Regions from separate parts of the Homo sapiens genome. Here regions 1, 2, 3, 4, 6 and 7 are each linked to region 5. The links are contacts of gene promoters, found by promoter capture Hi-C in blood cells and fetal thymus (Javierre and others, 2016). All regions are on one chromosome and are shown on one strand. Each heading gives the region's core, a stretch centred on a gene start or on the middle of the fragment in contact. The rest is flanking DNA. Distances are from core to core; before and after follow the strand shown.

Region 1 (2,700 bases), core at 61-2,560, 330 kb before region 5:
GCTCCTGGCCCCCCACTTTCCATCCATCGGGCAGTAACTTGGCTCCACATGCAGAGGGGACCCCGTGTCCATTCACCTCTCTTCTCCCTTGACCCCGTCACCTCCCACCTGGGCTGTTGCCACTGCCCCCCGCCCCGCCCCCACCATCACTCTCCAAGCTGGAAGTTTTTAAAAAGTAAATAAGATTATGTCACTCCATCCTCGTGCTTAAAATCCATTGCACTTAAGTAAAACCCAAGCTCCTTAATCCTGGTACGTAAACTCCTGCAGGCCCGCCCGGTTCCCGGTCTGCGCTCCTACCCGCCCTGCCCTCCTACCCGCCCTGCCCTCCTCTGGCTGGAGCCAAGTTCTCCCCTGCACCCCGCAACCGCCCCTGCTGCGGCGACCCTCCTCCTCCTCTTCCCTGGGATCTCAGCTTAAATGTTCCCCTTCTCTGAGTCTCCCCGACCACCACCTTATATGCTGGTCCCTGCAGTTTTCCTTTATGGTCTGTGCCCCCGGGTAGGACGCGATCCCCAGTGACGAGGACTTTGCTGGTTCCTCCTGTGGCCCCAGCACCTGCCGCAGAGCTCGGAGTGTGGTAGGCACTCAGCTGCTTTTCACTGAGCGAAGACTTTTTAGTTCTCCCGCTCACCGAGAGCCTACAATGTGCCTGGCACTGTGTGCCTTTCCCTGAATTACCTCTTTGAATCCACTTGGGAAATGGGGCATAATGGTCACTCCAGTTTTACAGTTGGAAAAACAGGCTCACAGGGGTGCAGTCACTTGCCCAAGGTTCCAAAAATAGTTCGTGATGTAGGCTGGATACGAACCTGGGGAAATTTGCTGGAGAAGCACAGAAAGAGAGGGATGAAGGAGGAGGGGAGAGAGAGAGAGAGATTTAATTTAAAAAGAGAAAGAACATGAGAGAGAACAGGAGAGAATGAGAGGAAATGAAAGAAAACACGAGAAAAATAATGAGAGAGAGAATGAGAGAAAGAAAGAAGAAGAGAAAGAGAAAATGAGAGATACAGGCAAGAGAGAGGTATCTCATGAGAGAGAATAAGAACATGAAAAGAGAAAGAATGAGAGAGAGAGAGAGAAAGAAAAAGGAGAGTGGAGTCTAGGATCTGGGCAGGGGTCTCCTCCCTGGGTCCCTAGACCCTGCTGCCAGCCCCTTCTGGGCCCCCAACCACTGCCTGGTCAGAGTTGAGGCAGCCTGAGAGAGTTGAGCTGGAAGTTTGCAGCACCTGACCCCTGGAACACATCCCCTGGGGGCAGGCCAGCCCAGGCTGAGGATGCTTATAAGCCCCAAGGAGGCCCCTGCGGGAGGCAGCAGGCTGGAGCTCAGCCCAGCAGTGGAATCCAGGAGCCCAGAGGTGGCCGGGTAAGAGGCCTGGTGGTCCCCCACTAAAAGCCTGCAGTGTTCATGATCCAACTCTCCCTACAGCTCCATGTCGCTGGATTCTCAGCCTCTGTGCCTTCTGTCTCCACATCTCTCTAGACAGATCTCTCACTGTCTCTAGTTAGGAGTCACTGTCTCTAGTTAGGGGTCTCTCTGTCTCTCTGAATCTATATCTCCATGTCTAACTCTCAGACTGTCTCTGAGGATATCTCTCAAGCACTCTGTCTCTCCGGCTCTGATTCTCTGTGTGTCTTCCCTCCATGCTTGTTTGTGGGTGGCTAGACACCATCTCTCCCCATTCACAGATGGCTAGATGCTTTCTCTAAACTTTCCTTTCTACCTAGTTCTCTCTCTCTCTCTCTTTTCCCATCTCTCTCTCTCTTTTTCTCTCTCAGTCTCTAAATCTGTCTCTCTAGGTTCTGGGTCCATGGATGGGAGAGGGGGTAGATGGTCTAGGCTCTTGCCTACCTAATAACGTCCCAGAGGGAAGAAAGGGAGGGACAAAGAGAGGGATGGAGAGACTTGGGCTGAAGATCCCCAGACACGGCTAAGTCTCAGTCCTCATCCCCAGGTGCTGACGTGATGGCCACAGCAGGAAATCCCTGGGGCTGGTTCCTGGGGTACCTCATCCTTGGTGTCGCAGGTATCTGAGTATGCGTGTGTGTGTCTGTCCGTGCTTGGGGGCACAGTGTTTGTTAATGTTCAGGTGTGACTCAGTGTCCTCTTGCTTGTGACTGCAAAGCTGCCTGTGAGACGGTACCGTGTTATCCGTCCCCCATGGCTGTGCCCCTGCAACTCCTTGTATCGTGGTAAATTTGTGTGTGGCAGTGTGCCTGGGTGTGTGGTTGTACCTGTGAGACTCTGACAGTTTGTGCCTCTGAATATCTGGTGGAGTGACAACAGTGTAATGATGATATGGGGACAGGGGAAGCCGAGGGTGCAGGAGATTGTGCTTCCTGGGGCGTGATCCATTGCTGGGAATCTGTGCCTGCTTCCTGGGTCTTCAGTCCTGAGATCCCCCTCTCCCATCCCCAAGGAACTCACCTCACAGGACTATAAAACGGTGTTTTGGTGTGCATGGGCTTGTGGCTTGGTGTGACTGTGGGCAAGGCTGGGAGAGGATAGGAGTGACTCGGCGCAGGACCGACTCTTTGAGCATCAGTCTGCGCAGACAAGTGACCCGATCCTTGCTCCCAGCAACAACTCCACCCCCTGAGCTTTAATTCACCCCGAAGGACCCGATCCTACTGCTATGAGCCTAGACTCCTCTGTTGAACCCCTCCTGACCGTGGCTTTGCACCGCGATGGCACCAGTC
Region 2 (2,700 bases), core at 199-2,698, 390 kb before region 5:
GAGGGTTGAGGCTGCCACGAGCAAGGATCGTGCCACTGCACTCCAGCCTAGGCGACAGAACAAGACCTTGTCTCAAAAGAAAAAAGAACTTTTTTTTTTAAGTTACCTGTAGTGCCCAGCCCAAGCAGGTGCTGAGCCAGACTTCATTCCTATCATTGTCCTTATTACGCAGTGACTTCCCCCTCCTCATTTCTCTCCACTCTGCCACGCACACACCCTCACCCTCCAGCCCATACCAACCACCCCAACCACTGCCTGTGGTTTCCCATGTGCACCCAGGCCAGGCATTTTCACGGCCTTTCCTCCTGACCTACGCCTGGCTCAGCTTTCTAGGCCCAAGTTCAAAGACACCTCCCTAAATCTTCCCAGATCCCTCTGCTACTGCCCAGCACCACCATCTTATCACAGCCCCACGTCGTTCCCAAGTGCTCTCCGATTTCTGCTTAACTCCATGCCTCTCGCTGTGTGTCCGCATCTCATCAATAAGTCCTCAAGTCCTCTTCCATCCTGCTAGCTTCCTCATCGCTCGGGAATCATCCCCGCTACTTCCTGGGGAAACTGACTCCCTTCTGGGCACACACAGTGCTACCCCCGGGGAAATCTAAGAAGAGACCCAGGAGAAGATAAGCACGGAGAGTCAGAGAATCAAGGGGAAAGAAAGGGAGAGAGGCCGGGCACAGTGGCTCACACCTGTAATCCAGCACTTTGGGAGGCCAAGGTGGGTGGATCACCTGAGGTCAGGAGTTTGAGACCAGCCTGGCCAACATGGTGAAACCTCTTCCCTACTAAAAATACAAAAAACATTTAGCCGGGCGTGGTGGTGGGTGCCTGTAATCCCAGCTACTTGGGAAGCTGAGGCAGGAGAACTGCTTGAACTCAGGAGGCGGAGGTTGCAGTGAACTGAGATCACACCACTGCACTCCAGCCTGAGTGACAGAGCAAGACTCCGTCAAAAAAAAAGAAAGAAAGAAAGAAAAGAAGGAAGGAAAGAAAGAAGGAAGGAAGGAAGGGAGGAAGGGAGAGAGGAAGGGAGAGAGGAAGGGAGAGAGAGAAAAAAAGAGGGAGAGAGACACAAATACAGAGACTGAGATGGGAGAGAGAGAGAGATGGAAGCTCCCTCCCCTCCATGGCCAGGGAGACAGATGGAGCAAGAGACCTCAGGGGTGGGCAGACTTGGAGGAGAAGGACCAGGAGGATGTGGAGTGCCGAAATCTCCAGTCAGGGCCAGGTGGGCAGTCAGAGACTGCAAAGGAGGACTGTCAGACAGGGACAAAAGGAAGCCATTGATGTAACCGCCCTCCCGCCTGCCCGCCGGAAGAGAGGTTGAGGCCGGAGCTGCTGGGAGCATGGCACTGGGGTGCTGGGGGCGGACAAAGCCCGATTGTTCCTGGGCCCTTTCCCCATCGCGCCTGGGCCTGCTCCCCAGCCCGGGGCAGGGGCGGGGGCCAGTGTGGTGACACACGCTGTAGCTGTCTCCCCGGCTGGCTGGCTCGCTCTCTCCTGGGGACACAGAGGTCGGCAGGCAGCACACAGAGGGACCTACGGGCAGGTGTGTGAGTCACCCCAACCGCACTGAACCTGGGCAGGCTGCTTCCCAGTGCCGGAGGGCTCTAGAGCCCGGAGTGAGGGCCTGCAGGTCCCTGGGTGGCACAGAGAGTGCTGGGGGTGCAGGGAGGCCTGGGGCACCATCTGCTTGCCCCAGAGGCCGGAATTTGTCTTCAGACACTTTCTTTCTCCAAAACCCGGAGGTCTAAGGACTGAGCCGACTAGAACTTCCTCTGCCTCAGATTCAGGCCCCAGCCCCTCCTCCCTCAGACCCAGGAGTTTAGGTCCTAGCCCCTCCTCCCTCAGACCCAGGAGTCCAAGTTCCCACCTCCTCCCTCAGACTCAGGAGTCCAGGCCCCCAGCCCCTCCTCCCTCAGACCCAGGAGTCCAAGTTCTCACCTCCTCCCTCAGACCCAGGAGTCCAGGCCCCAAGCCCCTCCTCCCTCAGACGCAAGGGTCCAGGCCCCCAGCCCCTCCTCCCTCAGACTCAGGAGTCCAGGCCCCCAAGCCCCTCCTCCCTCAGACCCAGGAGTCCAGGCCCTCACTGCACTCAGGGACCAGTGCTCCCTTCCCTGGAGGCCTGGTCAGGGGTCACCAAGAGCAGAGCGTGGGGGCGGGAGGAATGTGTGTGGGAGGCCTGGGTAAGGAGGAAAAGGGTGTAGCCAGTCTCCTGGCTCAGGGACCTGAGAGACAGGGGTTAAAAGGACGTTCCAGAAGCATCTGGGGACAGAACCAGCCTCTTCCAGGGAGGCCTGGGAGCTGGGGGTGTGTGTCTGGCAGTCCCTGCAGCCCTGGGCTCTGCGGCCCCTGCGTCCTCCGCTTGGCTCTGCCACTGCATCTGAGTGTCTTCTCTCCTCACGGCTCCCCGCATTTCTAACTCTTTCTGCCTCCTCGTCTCAAAGCTGTTCCTTCCCCCGACTCAAGAATCCCCGGAGCCCGGAGGCCTGCAGCAGGTGAGATCACAGACATCACAGAACCTGCCGGGTGGGCGGGGTGGGTGGCCATTGCGCACAGAGCCAGGCTCCGAGGAAAACTCCCATACAGAGGAAGAACGCTAGGGCCCCCTAGGGTAACCCTCTCCTGTCGACAGGAAGGCAAATCAGTGCCCAAGAAAGTAGAAAGATCTAATCAGAATCTCACCATGGGTTACTGGAC
Region 3 (2,700 bases), core at 104-2,603, 380 kb after region 5:
CCTACTATGTGTCGGGTATTTTCTCCTCTTAGAACAGCTCTTTGAGATCATAAAATGATTTAAAAAAAAAAAAAGAGGGAGAGACAGGGTCTCTCTCTGTTGCCCAGCTTGGAGTGCAATGCCACGATCATGGCTCACTGCAGCCTTGACCTCCTGGGCTCAACCGATCCTCCCTGCTCAGCCTCCCGAGTAGCTGGGACAGCAGGGTCACGCCACCACGCCCGGCTAACTCTTTTACTTTTTGTAGAGACGAAGTCTCGCTGTGTTGCCCAAGCTGGTCTCGAACTCCTGGGCTCAAGCGATTCTTTCGCTTCCACCTCCCAAAGTGCTGGGATTACAGGCCTGAGCCACTGCGCCCGGCCTAGAATAACCTCAACAACCAATGACATAGGGGTGATCAGCATGTCCATTTCTCTGATGTGGAAACTGAGGCAGGAAGGGTCAAAGTAAGGCACTCAAGATCACACAGCGTAAGAGGGAGGTCTGGAATTCAAGCCTATACCGTTTTCTGCCATTCTAAAGGAGGGGGTCTGGAAAGAACTTGTAGCAGGTCCCTAAAGACATGAATTTCTGCGTCCCAGTTGGTGATTACTACCAACCTGCTTCCCCATCTATGCCACAGGGACCACCGCTTTCCTTAGGGGACTCCTGTGGGACTGAAAAGGTTAAAGGACCCAGCACACAGTTGGTCTCTGGAGTGTTCTTCTCCACCAGGTCCCCCTGCAGTCACCAATTCGGCCCAGTCTCAGCCTTCCCCTCTCTGTATAATGGGTACAATATAACTCACCTCGAGTCAACACGATAAGGAAAGGAAATTATTTAGTTATAAAAAATAAAAGCGTCCAAGTACATCATAGGTTCTCAAATATGTCCTTCCCTACCCCTCCGCCTCTTCCAGTCACGACCCCTCTCTCTGGCCTCCGATTCTGACACGTGAGAACAGAGACATGTCATGCTGGGGGCGGGGGACTGGAGGCGATGACTCAGGTATTAAAGCGGCCGAGGTTCCAAAGACAGCCTCAGTTTCCCCTTCTGCGGAACAGGCCCGGGGCTGACAACGAGGACCCCGACCGGGCCTCGCACACGGCGGCAACTGGAGTTGGGGGAGTGTAGACGTCCCGCCCCCCCACCTCCCTCGCCGCCGTCCCGCTGCGCGCCCAAGGTGAGTGTCCGCGTCACCTCCCCGCCGTCCCCGGCCGCCTGCCCGGGCTCCCGGGCCCCGATCGCAGCCCCCAGGCTCCAGCTTCCCCTGGCTCAGTCCCGTTCCGCCGCCCCCGGAGGGCTGCCGGCCCCGGGCACTCACCGGCTTCCAGGGCCGTCCCGAGGCTTCGGCCTGGGGAGAAAGAGGGGCGTGTCCGCCAGGACAGCCCCGCCCCCAAGAGAGCAGCAGAGGCCAATCGGCGCCCGCTGCGGCAAGCTACGGCCCCGCCCCTGGGGGACGGGAGCCGCCAATCAAAAAGAGCGGCTGGCGGGCTGGGCCAATCAGAAGTTGTCGAAGGGTGCCAGCCGTGGGAAAAGAACGCGGCCCGGGCGCGGAGCTAGGCGGCGCGGTCGGGGGTGGAAGCCGAGGCCTGATGGGCACGGGGCGCCACCAATAGCGAGGCGCGGGGGGCGGCCGGGGGCGGGAGGCCCAAGGGGCCAGGGTGAATGGGCCGCTTTGTGCGCAAGGCATGAATGGGGGCCTTTGTAAGGGCCGGCGTGGGGGGGCCGACCGAAGGCCGGAATGCCTGGGTCCCCCGGGACCCGGCGGGCAGGAGAGACAGGAGACAGAATTCACTTTTGTCGAACGTAGACCATGTACCAGGCACCCTCCCAGGCTCTCACCCACCGGGGAGGTGTGGGCCGTGATACTATCGGAATAACAATGATCGTTTATCAAGCACTTCGATGTAGACCGGGAGCTGTGCTAAGCGCCTTACCTGCATGATCTCATTTAATCCTTACAACGAAGCCCTTGAAATTGGTGCTATTAAGATCTTCATCTTCTAGATGAGGTAACCCCAAGCTTAGAAAGAGGGTGTTAATTGCAGAAAGTCACAGAGCTGGCCGATGGCAGAGCAAGGACTCAGATCCAACCAGAAGTTGTGCTTTTAACCGCCATGCTATGCCCAAACGTGGTAATGATTCCCCATTTACAATTTACAGATGGGAAAACTGAGGCTCAGGAGAGCCAAAAGACTTCCCAAGGTTGGAAGGGTGCCGTGGCTCACACCTGTAATCCCAACACTTTGGGAGGCCAGGGTGGGAGGATCACTTGAGCCCAGGAGGTCAAGACCAGCCTGGGCAACATAGGCCCCATCTCTATTTAAAAGGAAAATAAAAAGAGCCAAGGGCACAAAGGAATGGCTCCACTGAACCCAAGGAGGCCTGCCAGCTTGGCTCGGCTGCTCAGCAGCTGTGTGGGCTCAGGCCAGTTGCTGGACTTTTTTGAGATTCCATTTATTTCTGCACTCGTAAAATGGGAGTGATGGACTGTCTGCCTTCACCCTTGCTCTCCCTACAGTCTACTCTATTCAGATGGGGCCTTTCCTCTGTTCAGAGCCTTCCATGGCTCCCATTTCACTCAGTAAAAGTCTAAGAACTCACCATGGCCAATGAGGTCCTGCGGGATGTGGCTGGCCCTTTTGCTCTCTCTGATCTCACCCCCAGGCCCTCCCCTTCATACTGCTCCAGCTACACTGGCTCAATTTCTCAAACCAG
Region 4 (2,700 bases), core at 86-2,585, 430 kb before region 5:
TGGTTCAGTTCCAGAGTCCATGCTCCAAACCATGACGACACAGTGAGAGAACATTCAAGGGGAGCCCAGACCCAGCTTCATAACCAGGCCTGTGAGCAGGAGAAAGTGGAAGGGATCGTAAGTGCCCAGGGGAGGCAAAGATGGACTCTGCCTGAGGATCTCAGAGATTTCCTGGAGGAGGGAGAATTGAGGTTGGGTGTTGAAGGATGAGTGGGAGTTCACCAGGAAAAGAAGGATATGGAGAAAGACATTCACTCATTCAATGAACATCTCCTGAGGACTTCTGCAAGCCCTGTTCCGCCTGGAACGGGGTGATGCTGGGACACAGAGATGAGTCAGACCTGGGCCCAGCCCTCCAGAAGCTGTCCACCTGGTGAGAAGGAATGATGAGGAGAGAGGCAGGGAGGATGGGGTGATGGAAGGGACAATGGGGTGGGGGGCAGGGAGATGGATGAAAAAAATATATAGCAAATGTTCTCAGGATTTGGCAAAGATCAGGATGTATTAAGAGAGAGCACAGGGCACTTGCTACCTGGAAGGTTGGGCACCTGGGTCCTTGGGTGGTGGAGCCGTGGGGAAGGGGGCAGGTTATGACAAGAGTGGGTTAATCCAGATGGAACCAGATTTCTCAACATTCTAGGAGAGGGCCTTGTCCTTGTGGGAAGAGGCCCAAATCCCCAGGGCAGGGAAGGTTCTGCAAGGTGTGTAAACCTGTGCAGCTGCCTGTGGTCTCTGCCTCACTCCACCTGGATTTCCCTCAATCTTTCCCGTGTTCTGTCTCCTCCTCCCACTCCTCCTCTCATCTTGGGTCCTTCTGTGCCTGTACCTCCCTCTCTTTGTATCTTTTGCTCTTGTGTCTGAGTCCTGACTCTGTCTTCCACCCCTCGCCTCCTTTCTGGGTGGTCCCCCTGCACATCCCTCCAGCCTGCCGTGGGAGGTTGGTCTCTGCACACCACTGCTTTATCCAAAATAAACCTGCTGCACCCCAGGACCTTAGGCTTCAAGGATCTCCCTCCTTTTCCAGGACACAAAAGATTCTGTATCTTGTAGCCTAAGGTGATGAGGAATGAGGTCTCCCACTCTGAAGACCCCAGAGGAGGTGCCCACAACCTCTCCACACCCCCAGCACTCCTCCTCCATTCAGTCAAGCTCTGGCCCAGCAAGCCGCCAGTTCATCCCAAAAGGGGGGTCCCCCTGCACTTACCTCCTCTCCCAAGGCCCCTGTCACAGCCCCAGGGCTTCCCCCTCCCCCAGGTACATTTCCCAACCCCGATTAATCACAGGGGCGGCCCCATGGAGGAGGAAGGAGATGGCATGGCTTACCATAAAGAAGCACTGGACGCCGGGTGCACGTTCCAGGATCCAGGTGCCCAGGGGTCATGAAGCTGGGACTCCTCTGTGCTCTGCTCTCTCTGCTGGCAGGTGAGGCTCCCAGGCTGGCTGCCCCTTCACGGCTGTACTAAGGTCACCTTGCTCTTCCCTCCCATCCCAGGCTTCTGCCTCCTGCCCTCTAGGCTTCTCAGCATCCTCTCCCTGCCCTCCCAGCCTGCTCTTCGCTGACCCCTTTGTCCCTCATCCCCACCCCAGGGCATGGCTGGGCAGACACCCGTGCCATCGGGGCCGAGGAATGTCGCCCCAACTCCCAGCCTTGGCAGGCCGGCCTCTTCCACCTTACTCGGCTCTTCTGTGGGGCGACCCTCATCAGTGACCGCTGGCTGCTCACAGCTGCCCACTGCCGCAAGCCGTGAGTGACCCAGGCTGGCCATGCTGGGGAGGGACAGAGGCTGGGGGTCAGGAGAGGGTGAGGGGTGCTTTAGGCCAGAAGTGCGGAGCCTCCACTTCTGATACCACAAGTTCAACTCTTAGAAGTAGGAAGGGTAGCCTCCCAAATCCTAAAATTCTAGAGACCAGCAATATCTCATTTGAGAAGTCTAAGATTCGAAACTTAGGCTCTTCGAATCCGAGACTGACCCAGAGAAATCCAGAATCGTAGAATCCTAAAATCTTGAATTTATGAAATTCTGCAATAGCCTCAGCAAATTTTAGAATCATAGATTCGCAGACTATTAGAATCTTAGCAGTCTGGGTCAGCACTGCCCAGAGGAATTATGATGCCAGCCACATGTGTAAGTTTAAATTTCTGGTGGACACATTTAAAAAATAAGGAATGAGTAAAATTAATTCTAATAGATTTAACTTGACATACCCAAAAACTTATTTTGACATGTAATCAATTTTTAAATACGTATGAACGATACAGTTTACTTTTGTTTTGGTACTAAGCCTTTGAAATCTGTTCTGTATTTTACACACATAGCCTGTTACAAAATGGACTAGCCACATTTCAAGTGTTCAATAGCCATAATGGCTAGTGTGATCCTAGAATCTTAAATTCAGAGCTTTCTAGATTCATTGAATATTGAAACTCACAGTACTAGAATCTTTGATTCACAGTATCCTAGAATATTGAGATTCAGATAATTCTGTAGTCTTAAACTATTTGAATCCCAGACTCTTAAATTTCTAAGGTTATAGATTTATAGAATGATGACATTCTAGTCTTTCTTTTTTTTTTTTTTTTTTTTTTTTGAGACAGAGTCTCCCTCTATCTCCCAGGCTGGAGTGCAGTGGCACAATCTCAGCTCACTGCAACCTCTGCCTCTCGGGTTCAAGCAATTCTCCTGCCTCAGCCTCCTGAGT
Region 5 (2,700 bases), core at 160-2,659:
AAGTCAGGAGTGGCTGGGTGTGGTTGCCCACGCCTGTAATCCCAGCATTTTGGGAGGCTGAGGAGGGCAGATCATTTGAGCCCAGGAGTTCGAGACCAGCCTGGGCAACATGGTGAAACCCCATAAATACAAAAATTAGCTGGGTATGGTGGTGGGCACCTGTAATCCCAGCTACTTGGGAGACGAAGGCAAGAGAATCACTTGAACCAAGGAGGTGGAGGTTGGAGTGAGCTAAGATTGCACCGCTGCACTCCAGCCTGGGTGACAGAGACTCTGTCTCAATAACAATAATAATAATAATAAAATTATTAGTCAATAAGGCAGGAGTGGCCAGAAATGGTGGCTTATGCCTATAATCCCAGCACTTTGGGAGGCCAAGGCGGCTGGATCACTTGAGCCCAGGGGGCTTGAGCCCAAGAGTTTGAGACCAGCCAGGGCAAACATGACAAAACCCCATCTCTACAAAAAAATACAAAAATAAGCTGGGCGTGGTGGCAGGCGCCTGTAGTCCCAGCTACTCAGGAGGCTGAGGTGGGAGGATTTCTTGAACTCAGGAGGTGGAAATTGCAGTGAGCTGAGATTGTGCCACTGCACTCCAGCCTGGGTGACAGAGCAAGACTCTGTCTCAAAATAATAATAATAATAATATGGCAGGGCCGGGCACAGAAGCTCACGCCTGTAATCCCAGCACTTTGGGAGGCTGAGTCAGGCAGATCATCTGAGGTCAGGAGTTTGAGACGAGTCTGGCCAACGTGGTGAAACCCCATCTCTACTAAAAATACACAAATTAGCCGGGCATGGTGGTACCGGCCTGTAGTCCCAGCTACTCTGGAGGCTGAGGCAGGAGAATCGCTTGAACCTGGGAGGCAAAGGTTGCAATGAGCTGAGATTGTGCCACTGCACTCCAGCCTGGGCAACAGAGCGAGGCTCTGTCTCTAAAAATAAAAAATAAAAATAAAAATAAATAAAATAAATAAATAACTTAGGAGTGAAATGAAAACAGGCTACAGGTAAAGCAGCATCCCCAGATCACATGTACTCCATTAACACTTAAGTTTTTTTCAGATTTGGCTATAATAAATGATTCTATGAGATACATCTCTGTGTGTATATTTTTGTCTACCTCTCTGATGACTTCCTGAATATAAGTTCCTATGAGTTGAATTGCTGGGTCATTAACAAAAGTTTTCTGCAGAAGCTAAAGCAATTTTCACATTAACTGTTTCATTTAGTTCCTTTTATAAAGCCCAAAGGCATAGCATTACAACAGCTCAGTGATTCCTTCCTCTGCCCATCAAATGAGCAACAAATGTTTTAAGCTTCTACCAAATGCTAGAGAGAGTGCAGCCAAACAGACATGCATGCTGATACTCAGTTGTCAGAAGGTAAATTGCCACAATTTTGGAAAGCAAATTGGTGAAAGGTGTCAAATACAGGAACAATGTCCATACCCTGAAAATATCCCATGCCTGGGAATTCACCTGAAAGTCAGAAGCTTACAAAGAGGTTCATGGTGATATTTTATAATAGTTTTTTTTTTTTTTTGAGATGGAGTCTTGCTCTTCTCACCCAGGCTGGAGTGCAGTGGCGTGATCTCGGCTCACTGCAACCTCGGCCTCTCAGTTTCAAGCGATTCTCCTGCCTCAGCCTCCTGAGAAGCTGGGACTACAGGCGCGTGCCACCATGCTCAGCTAATTTTTGTATTTTTAGTAGAGACAGGGTTTCGCCATCTTATCCAGGCTGGTCTCGACCTCCTGACCTCAGGTGATCCGCCCATCTTAGCCTCCCAAAGTGCTGGGATTACAGGTGTGAGCCACTGTGCCTGGCCTTTATTTTTATTTTTTATTTTTACTTCTTTTTTGAACAGAGTCTTGCTCTGTCACCCAGGCTGGATGGGTGCAGTGGTACCATCTCGGCTCACTGCAACCTCCACCTCCCGGGTTTAAGCGATTCTCCTACTTCAGCTTCCCAAGTAGCTGGGACTATAGGCACGCACCACCAAACCTGGCTAATTTTTGTATTTTTAGTGGAGACGGGGTTTTACCATGTTAGCCAGGCTGGCCTCAAACTCCTGAGCTCAACAGATCCACCCACCTCAGCCTCCCAGAGTTCTGGGGTTATAGGCATGAGCCACCATGCCAGGCCTAGTTTTTGAAAAATAAAATTACCAGAGTATCCAACTAGAAAGGAATGGTTAAATTAACCATGCTGTATCCACTCAACAGAATATTAAGTCAGGGCCTTACTCCTAAAGCATGGCCTTCCTGAGCTTTCAGCTGAGTGCCCAGGAGCTTAGTGAGGCCCTCCCACTCTGGCTGGGCTGGAGACTCATCTCCTAGCGCTGCATGACGGCTTTTATTTCTGTTCATCTCTCATCTTTGTAGCAGCTACCCCCGACTGGTACTCATGGAGTCTTGTCCTCTGCAGACACCGTCCAGTCCTTAGCCAAGGACCTATGGTGAACTACACACAGGCTTCTGGGGGCCCACCTCATGCGGCTCCCTTTTCCCCACTGCCCTATCCTGCAAATTCCAGCCTTGTCAGCAGCCCCCAGAGCCCTCTCTCTGTCTCCTCGGCTCAGTAAGACTGCTCTGGGCCAGGCACGGTGGCTCACGCCTGTAATCCCAACACTTTCGGAAGCTGAGACGGGCAGATCCCTTGAGGCCAGGAGTTCAAGACCAGTTTTGGCAACACAGCAAA
Region 6 (2,700 bases), core at 188-2,687, 440 kb before region 5:
TCTAATAAGACGAAGGGTGGAGTGCAGGCTTGGAAAGCAGGAGAGCTCAGCCTACGTCTTTAATCCTCCTGCCCACCCCTTGGATTCTGTCTCCACTGGGACTCAAGAGGTGAGGAGAGACCATCTCCCCAAATGCACTGAAGGGAAACTGGAGGAGGGAGGGAGTGAGGGGTGATCATACCAGCGGAGGCACATTTGCTGAGCCCCCCCGCAGTCTGCTCTTTCCAAGTGGACCCTCCTGGAAGCCTGATCCCAACCTCCCCTGCAAGCAGGTCTGTCACCCCCATCTCTCAGATGAAGAAACTGAGCCTTGCAGGGGTGGAGTCCCTTGTCCCCACGTCATAAGGGTAGTCATAGTAGTAGGAAGAGGAAGCACCTAGGTTTGAGGCCAGGGCTGGCTGCTGTCAGAACCTAGGCCCTCCCCTGCCTTGCTCCACACCTGGTCAGGGGAGAGAGGGGAGGAAAGCCAAGGGAAGGGACCTAACTGAAAACAAACAAGCTGGGAGAAGCAGGAATCTGCGCTCGGGTTCCGCAGATGCAGAGGTTGAGGTGGCTGCGGGACTGGAAGTCATCGGGCAGAGGTCTCACAGCAGCCAGTAAGTGAACAGCTGGACTCGGGCTGCCTGGGCGGCAGGGAGAAGCGGGCAGGGGAAGGGTCAGCAGAGGAGCGAGGCCCCAGAGGAGCCCTGGGGTGGAGCACAGCCAAGGGCTCTGTTCCCTTTCCTGGACTCGGCTTCCACAGGCCCTGACCTGCCTCCCCCACCCTCCGGTCCTGCCCCTGTGCCTGGCAGCAGCCCCACCTGTGTGACATCCCAGCACACCCCCCCTCTCCTTGCAAAGGAGAAGGGAGCGGCCTAGGGGAGGCCAGGGGCCCACCTGGGCTGGGGCTGTGGAGAGGGAGTGGCTGGGACGGGAGGAAAAAGAGAGACGGAGATTAGATGGAAGAAGAGGGATTTCAAGACAAATTGCCAGAGATGCAGTCAGAGAGACTGACTGAGAGACACAAAGATAGAAGGAATTAGAGAAAGGGCCACACAGAGCCAGACAGAGAGAGAAGAGTGGAGATGGAGACAGGGACGAGGACAGAGAAAGGCAGACAGACACATAGGGACAGAAAGAGAAAAATCACACAAAGTCAGAATTACTGAATGACAGGGAATGACACATAGAACGAGACACAGATTCAGAGACTCAGGGCAGGGAAAGGAAGGCTGCAGACAGACAGACAGACAGAGGGAGGCTGAGACACAGGGAGAAGAGGGGCTTGGAGAGGTGGCACAGGCAGGCAGCCAGTGCCTCAGAGGCCTCCGGGGAGGGCCCTCACACACACCCCGCCCCGGGGCATTAAGGCAGGGCTTGGAGGCCAGTCATCCTGGGCCCGCCCAGGGCCGCCCCCCTGCCAGCCCGCCTGCCTGGTGCCTGGCACCTGGCGCTCCAACCCAGCCTACCTGCTGTAGCTGCCGCCACTGCCGTCTCCGCCGCCACTGGGCCCCCAGAGCCCCAGCCCCAGAGCCTGTGAGTCCAGGAGGAAAGGGAAGCTGCCCCTCCCCGTCCAGGTGTCAGCCCTCCCCAAGGACACCTGTCCCACTCGGGCACCCATTTCTCCCTCTGCTCTGTCCTTCTCTGCTTGGGTGGGGGTTCCTGGCCTCTCTCTACACCTCTCACCTCCGATGGCTGTCCGCAGCCTCAGTTACCTCTAATCTCCATGGCTTCAGCTGCTGAGCTGGCCCTCTGCTCCCACCCCCGCTGGCCAGGGCAGCGGAGGGCACTGGCCCTCCCCTCGACCAGCCCCGCCCAGCTTTGCTTGGCTGTCCTTCAAAAGGGCAGGGGTTTGGCGGACAGGGCTTCAGCAAGCCGGGTGATGGGGGTCCCAGACATTGTCTGGGGCTGAGCCCCCTACTCCCCTCCAGCAGACCTCAAAGGCTCCATATCGCTCTGCTGCGAAGACAATGAAAAAGGGGTGGCTACGGAACGGTGTCTGGTTCCCCTTGTCCTTCCACCCCAAGCTGCTGGGGCCTGGCCAGCTCTCAAGGCAAGAAGGAAAACATCCTCTGACATGTGCCGGGGAGGTCCCATGGCTGACTTGAACAGGGCCGAACCATGGCTTGACAGCTCAAAGCCCCTCCCAACGACTTCCACATGGTTCTTGGTATCTCGGAAGCTTCTAGCTGTGACCAGGCCCTCTCCAAGGCCACCCTAGACACCTAAGATATATTTTAAGTGTTTGGAGATCTGAGTGCTGTGAGAAACAGGGGATTTCCCCAACCTTGTTTCTCCCAAGTGGGGAGCGGGAGCAGGTGAGGGAGAGAGGAGAGGGCATGAGCCAGCCCCCCCCTCCCGATTTCCCCGTAAAGTGATGCGGCCCCATGTCCCTCCTTGTTCCCAGAGGAACCTGGGGCCCGCTCCTCCCCCCTCCAGGCCATGAGGATTCTGCAGTTAATCCTGCTTGCTCTGGCAACAGGTACGCAGGGGATGGGGGCAGGGCAGGATCCTCCCTCTTGAATCTCTGGGATCCCCTAACCCTCTGTGTCTGGACAGTGACAGGGCTGATTCCAAATTACAGAACAACCCATAAGGCACCTGAACTGGAGCAGTGGTCATGAGGGCCTGGATGCCCTTCTAGATAATCCCTTTAAATGCCAAAGGAGGAGAGGTCAAGGGGGTCGTAAAGGGTCCCGTGGAGGGGCTGAGGAAGCTGGA
Region 7 (2,700 bases), core at 150-2,649, 480 kb before region 5:
ATCCACGTCTTCAAAGCTTTCCGGCTCCTGCTTTTTCCTCTCCACCTAGGTCCCCGTGGACTCCCTCACCCCCTCTGGCCCTGCTCCTAAAAGGCCATTTCTGGAAAATGTTGCTTTCTCAGGTCGCATCTCTGCCCCCATCCAAGTCCGAGGGAGCTGATTTTCTATCCACCCAGCTGATGATTTCCTTCTTGTGTCCGGTGGTTGGCGGGAGCAGGGAGGCAGGATGATGGGATAATTGTGGGTGTCCTTGTGTCTTTCAAAAGAAAAAGGGTTGAGATGAGACTGGGAATTGGAACCTGGATGTGTTGAGAGCTAAACCTGAGATGAGGTTGGAGATGGGACTGGGGTTGAGGAACAGGCTGGAGTACTTGGTATGGTTAGGGATGGATAGGGAGGTGGGAATCTGATAGAACACGGCCATCTGGGGGCTGACTGCCTATTAAGAATTATGCATGGGGTTGGAGAAGAGGTTAGAAAACTGGGTGCAGAATGGGTTGAAGTTAGGGATGGGCATGGAACTCAGCGGGGTAGGGGGAAGGAAATGGGCTTTCCCCTTACCCTTTTTTGGGTCCTGAGGCCTGAAAGTTCACAGTGGGTTCAACTCTGCCTTGGGCGGGGTCAGACCTAGGTCCCAGCACGTCCTGGAAGCTCCGCCCCAAGCAGAGGGCCAAGCCCAGGTCGGGGGTGCCTGGAGACATCCCGCTGAGCCACTGGGGGTGGAGAGGGGGAGGCCAGGGACCAGGAAATGCTGAGTGAGCTGGGGGAGGGAGTTCAGGGGTTAAAAGCCATGGTTCGGGGCTGAAGTTCTAGACAGCTGGCGGCTGACGCTCCTCGTGGGCCCCTCACTCAGGTAGGGTCTGCCTGGGGCGGGGGCGGGGAGCGGAGGAGGGCAGGGAGGGGAGAGAAGAGGGGATAGGAAGGATGGGGAAAGCAGAAGGGCAGCTGAGTCAGGGAGAGGGAGAGTGAAGCTAGAGTCTCAGATCTAGAGAGAAACCTGCAGAGACGGAGAGAGGCGAAGGGCGCGGACAGATAAGAACTTGGGCTAATACCAAGCGTGTGGACAGACCCAGAGGGGTAGAATGGAAGGCAGACTCTGGAGGAAAAGGGCGAGAGTGCACCGACCACCCAGCTCGCCAGAGGGCAGGGGAGGAGGGACGGCTTCCTGGGGTGAGGGGCTGCACGCCGGAGCCCCAGGAGGTTGCACACTGTTCCTCCCACCTCGCCACTGCACCCCCACCAAGGATGGAATTGGAGGCGGGGGGCAGATTCCAGGGTCAGGGCTGTCAAGAGTGAATGAGGCGAGGAGACATTCAGGAGCAGAGAGGTTTCAGACGCGGAGGTTCCGGGCACGCCCTCAACACCCCCTTCACCTTCTCCTCAGGCCCCGCCCGCCCTGCCCTCCCCTCCCGATCCCGGAGCCATGTGGCCCCTGGCCCTAGTGATCGCCTCCCTGACCTTGGCCTTGTCAGGAGGTAAGAATGCGCGGGGGTGGAGGCGCGGCGGCCATTCGGGACAATGGTAGGAGGGGTCAGGCCGGAGGGGGAGGGGGCGTGGGAGCCGCGAGCTCCGCCCCCCGCCCACTCGGGGCCGGGTCCAGTGGGGACAGCTCAGAGCTCTTCCTGCTTGTCCCTGGGTGACCTGGTTTCCCGGCTGAGGTTGGCCCTCCGACCCCAGACCCTTCACCTCCCAAAATACCCTCGCAGCAGCCCCTCCCGCGTTCAAGGCTTCCTGTCCTCTCTGGAAAGCTGAAAGACATGGGTTCGCGTCCTGACGCTGCCGCTTTGAGCCAGTAGCCTAGCAGCTGCTTTGTGCCTAAATTGTTTTCATCTGGAAAATGGGCTTAATCTATAAGTGCTTACCAGAGAAGGTCACTGTGAATATTGAAACGAGGTAATGCGTCGAGCCTTCAGTATGTCGCAGGTAGAAGGGACTTGAAAGTTAGCCACTTAGCCGTTATTACTTTATTAGTAGTATTCCTTTTTTTTTTTTTTTTTTTTTTTGAGATGGAACCTTGCTCTGTCTCCCAGGCTGGAAGGCAGTGGCACGATCTTGGCTTACTGAAACCTCCGCCTCCCGGGTTGAAGCGATTCTCCTGCCTCAGCCTCCCGAGTAGCTGGGATTACAGGCGCCCGCCACCACGCCCAACTAATTTTTGTATTTTCAGCAGAGACGGGGTTTCGCCATGTTGGTTAGGCTGGTCTCGAACTTCTAACTTCAAGTAGCCCGCGTCAGCCTCCCAAAGTGCCAGGATTACAGGCATGAGCCACCGAGCCCGGCCTCTAGTATTCTGTCTTCATACTCAGCCCCTTCCAGAACCTTCTAGATTGTTATTTTAATCCTTGGGTTGACCCCAAACCTATGTGACCTCACCCCAAATTGGTAGTCCTTAAGATCCTTATGGATCTTTCCCATCTTTCCCTGCCGTTGTAGGCAGGTTCTCTGGAAACCCCGTTCATGAATCATTTATTCATTCAACAAACAGCTATTAAACACCGGCCACTGTGCTGGGTGCTGTACAAGCAGAGACACAGTCCCTGCTCTCAGCACCTGGAGTCTAGCGGGGACAGACGCAGATGTTATTCAAACAATTATCCAAATAATTAGTTAATAATTATCTTGACATGAGGTGAAGACTTCAAGGAGCCAAGCCAGGGGCCTAGAGATGTAATGGCGGCTTCCCGACCAGAGGCCTTCCCA

What was found. The method cuts DNA at HindIII sites, captures the fragments that hold promoters and counts their contacts. A CHiCAGO score of 5 or more calls a contact.
Region 1: the fragment with the promoter of KLK4 here is called in contact with a fragment that was not itself captured in region 5 in 2 of 17 cell types (naive B cells and M2 macrophages); the score reaches 7.0 in naive B cells.
Region 2: a contact is called between the fragment with the promoter of KLK6 here and a fragment that was not itself captured in region 5, in 7 of 17 cell types (M1 macrophages, M0 macrophages, total B cells and 4 more). The highest score is 12.3, in M1 macrophages.
Region 3: the fragment with the promoter of MYH14 here is called in contact with a fragment that was not itself captured in region 5 in 1 of 17 cell types (naive B cells); the score reaches 5.8 in naive B cells.
Region 4: a contact is called between the fragment with the promoter of KLK9 here and a fragment that was not itself captured in region 5, in 3 of 17 cell types (M0 macrophages, M1 macrophages and M2 macrophages). The highest score is 7.2, in M0 macrophages.
Region 6: the fragment with the promoter of KLK11 here is called in contact with a fragment that was not itself captured in region 5 in 4 of 17 cell types (M0 macrophages, M1 macrophages, megakaryocytes and 1 more); the score reaches 8.1 in M0 macrophages.
Region 7: a contact is called between the fragment with the promoter of KLK13 here and a fragment that was not itself captured in region 5, in 3 of 17 cell types (M1 macrophages, M2 macrophages and M0 macrophages). The highest score is 8.9, in M1 macrophages.

Annotation. Positions count from the first base shown.
Region 1 is chr19:50,910,005-50,912,704 of GRCh38, reverse strand. It overlaps KLK4 (kallikrein related peptidase 4), which reads left to right and starts at 1,310. Exons shown (of 6, transcript NM_004917.5): 1 at 1,310-1,366; 2 at 1,956-2,027. The coding sequence starts at 1,967. The HindIII fragment of the contact is 22,926 bases long and covers 1-2,700 here.
Region 2 is chr19:50,968,339-50,971,038 of GRCh38, reverse strand. KLK6 (kallikrein related peptidase 6) reads left to right here and starts at 1,448. Exons shown (of 7, transcript NM_002774.4): 1 at 1,448-1,549; 2 at 2,448-2,498. It overlaps LOC105372442 (a long non-coding RNA gene), which reads right to left. Exons shown (of 7, transcript XR_007067308.1): 4 at 2,686-2,700. The HindIII fragment of the contact is 4,765 bases long and covers 1-2,700 here.
Region 3 is chr19:50,202,275-50,204,974 of GRCh38, reverse strand. MYH14 (myosin heavy chain 14) reads right to left here and starts at 1,353. Exons shown (of 43, transcript NM_001145809.2): 1 at 1,304-1,353. It overlaps LOC124904746 (a long non-coding RNA gene), which reads left to right and starts at 999. Exons shown (of 3, transcript XR_007067298.1): 1 at 999-1,162. The HindIII fragment of the contact is 8,559 bases long and covers 1-2,007 here.
Region 4 is chr19:51,008,227-51,010,926 of GRCh38, reverse strand. It overlaps KLK9 (kallikrein related peptidase 9), which reads left to right and starts at 1,335. Exons shown (of 5, transcript NM_012315.2): 1 at 1,335-1,422; 2 at 1,588-1,744. The coding sequence starts at 1,380. RefSeq lists an enhancer at 952-1,452. The HindIII fragment of the contact is 11,592 bases long and covers 1-2,700 here.
Region 5 is chr19:50,582,543-50,585,242 of GRCh38, reverse strand. No RefSeq gene overlaps it. Among named protein-coding and RNA genes, the nearest start is that of LRRC4B, 15 kb to the right of the region's middle. The HindIII fragment of the contact is 176 bases long and covers 1,322-1,497 here.
Region 6 is chr19:51,025,353-51,028,052 of GRCh38, reverse strand. It overlaps KLK11 (kallikrein related peptidase 11), which reads left to right and starts at 1,437. Exons shown (of 6, transcript NM_001136032.3): 1 at 1,437-1,515; 2 at 2,387-2,461. The coding sequence starts at 2,422. RefSeq lists enhancers at 126-682, 1,242-1,799, 1,800-2,358. The HindIII fragment of the contact is 2,362 bases long and covers 1-2,163 here.
Region 7 is chr19:51,063,791-51,066,490 of GRCh38, reverse strand. KLK13 (kallikrein related peptidase 13) reads left to right here and starts at 1,399. Exons shown (of 5, transcript NM_015596.3): 1 at 1,399-1,475. The coding sequence starts at 1,424. The HindIII fragment of the contact is 5,030 bases long and covers 19-2,700 here.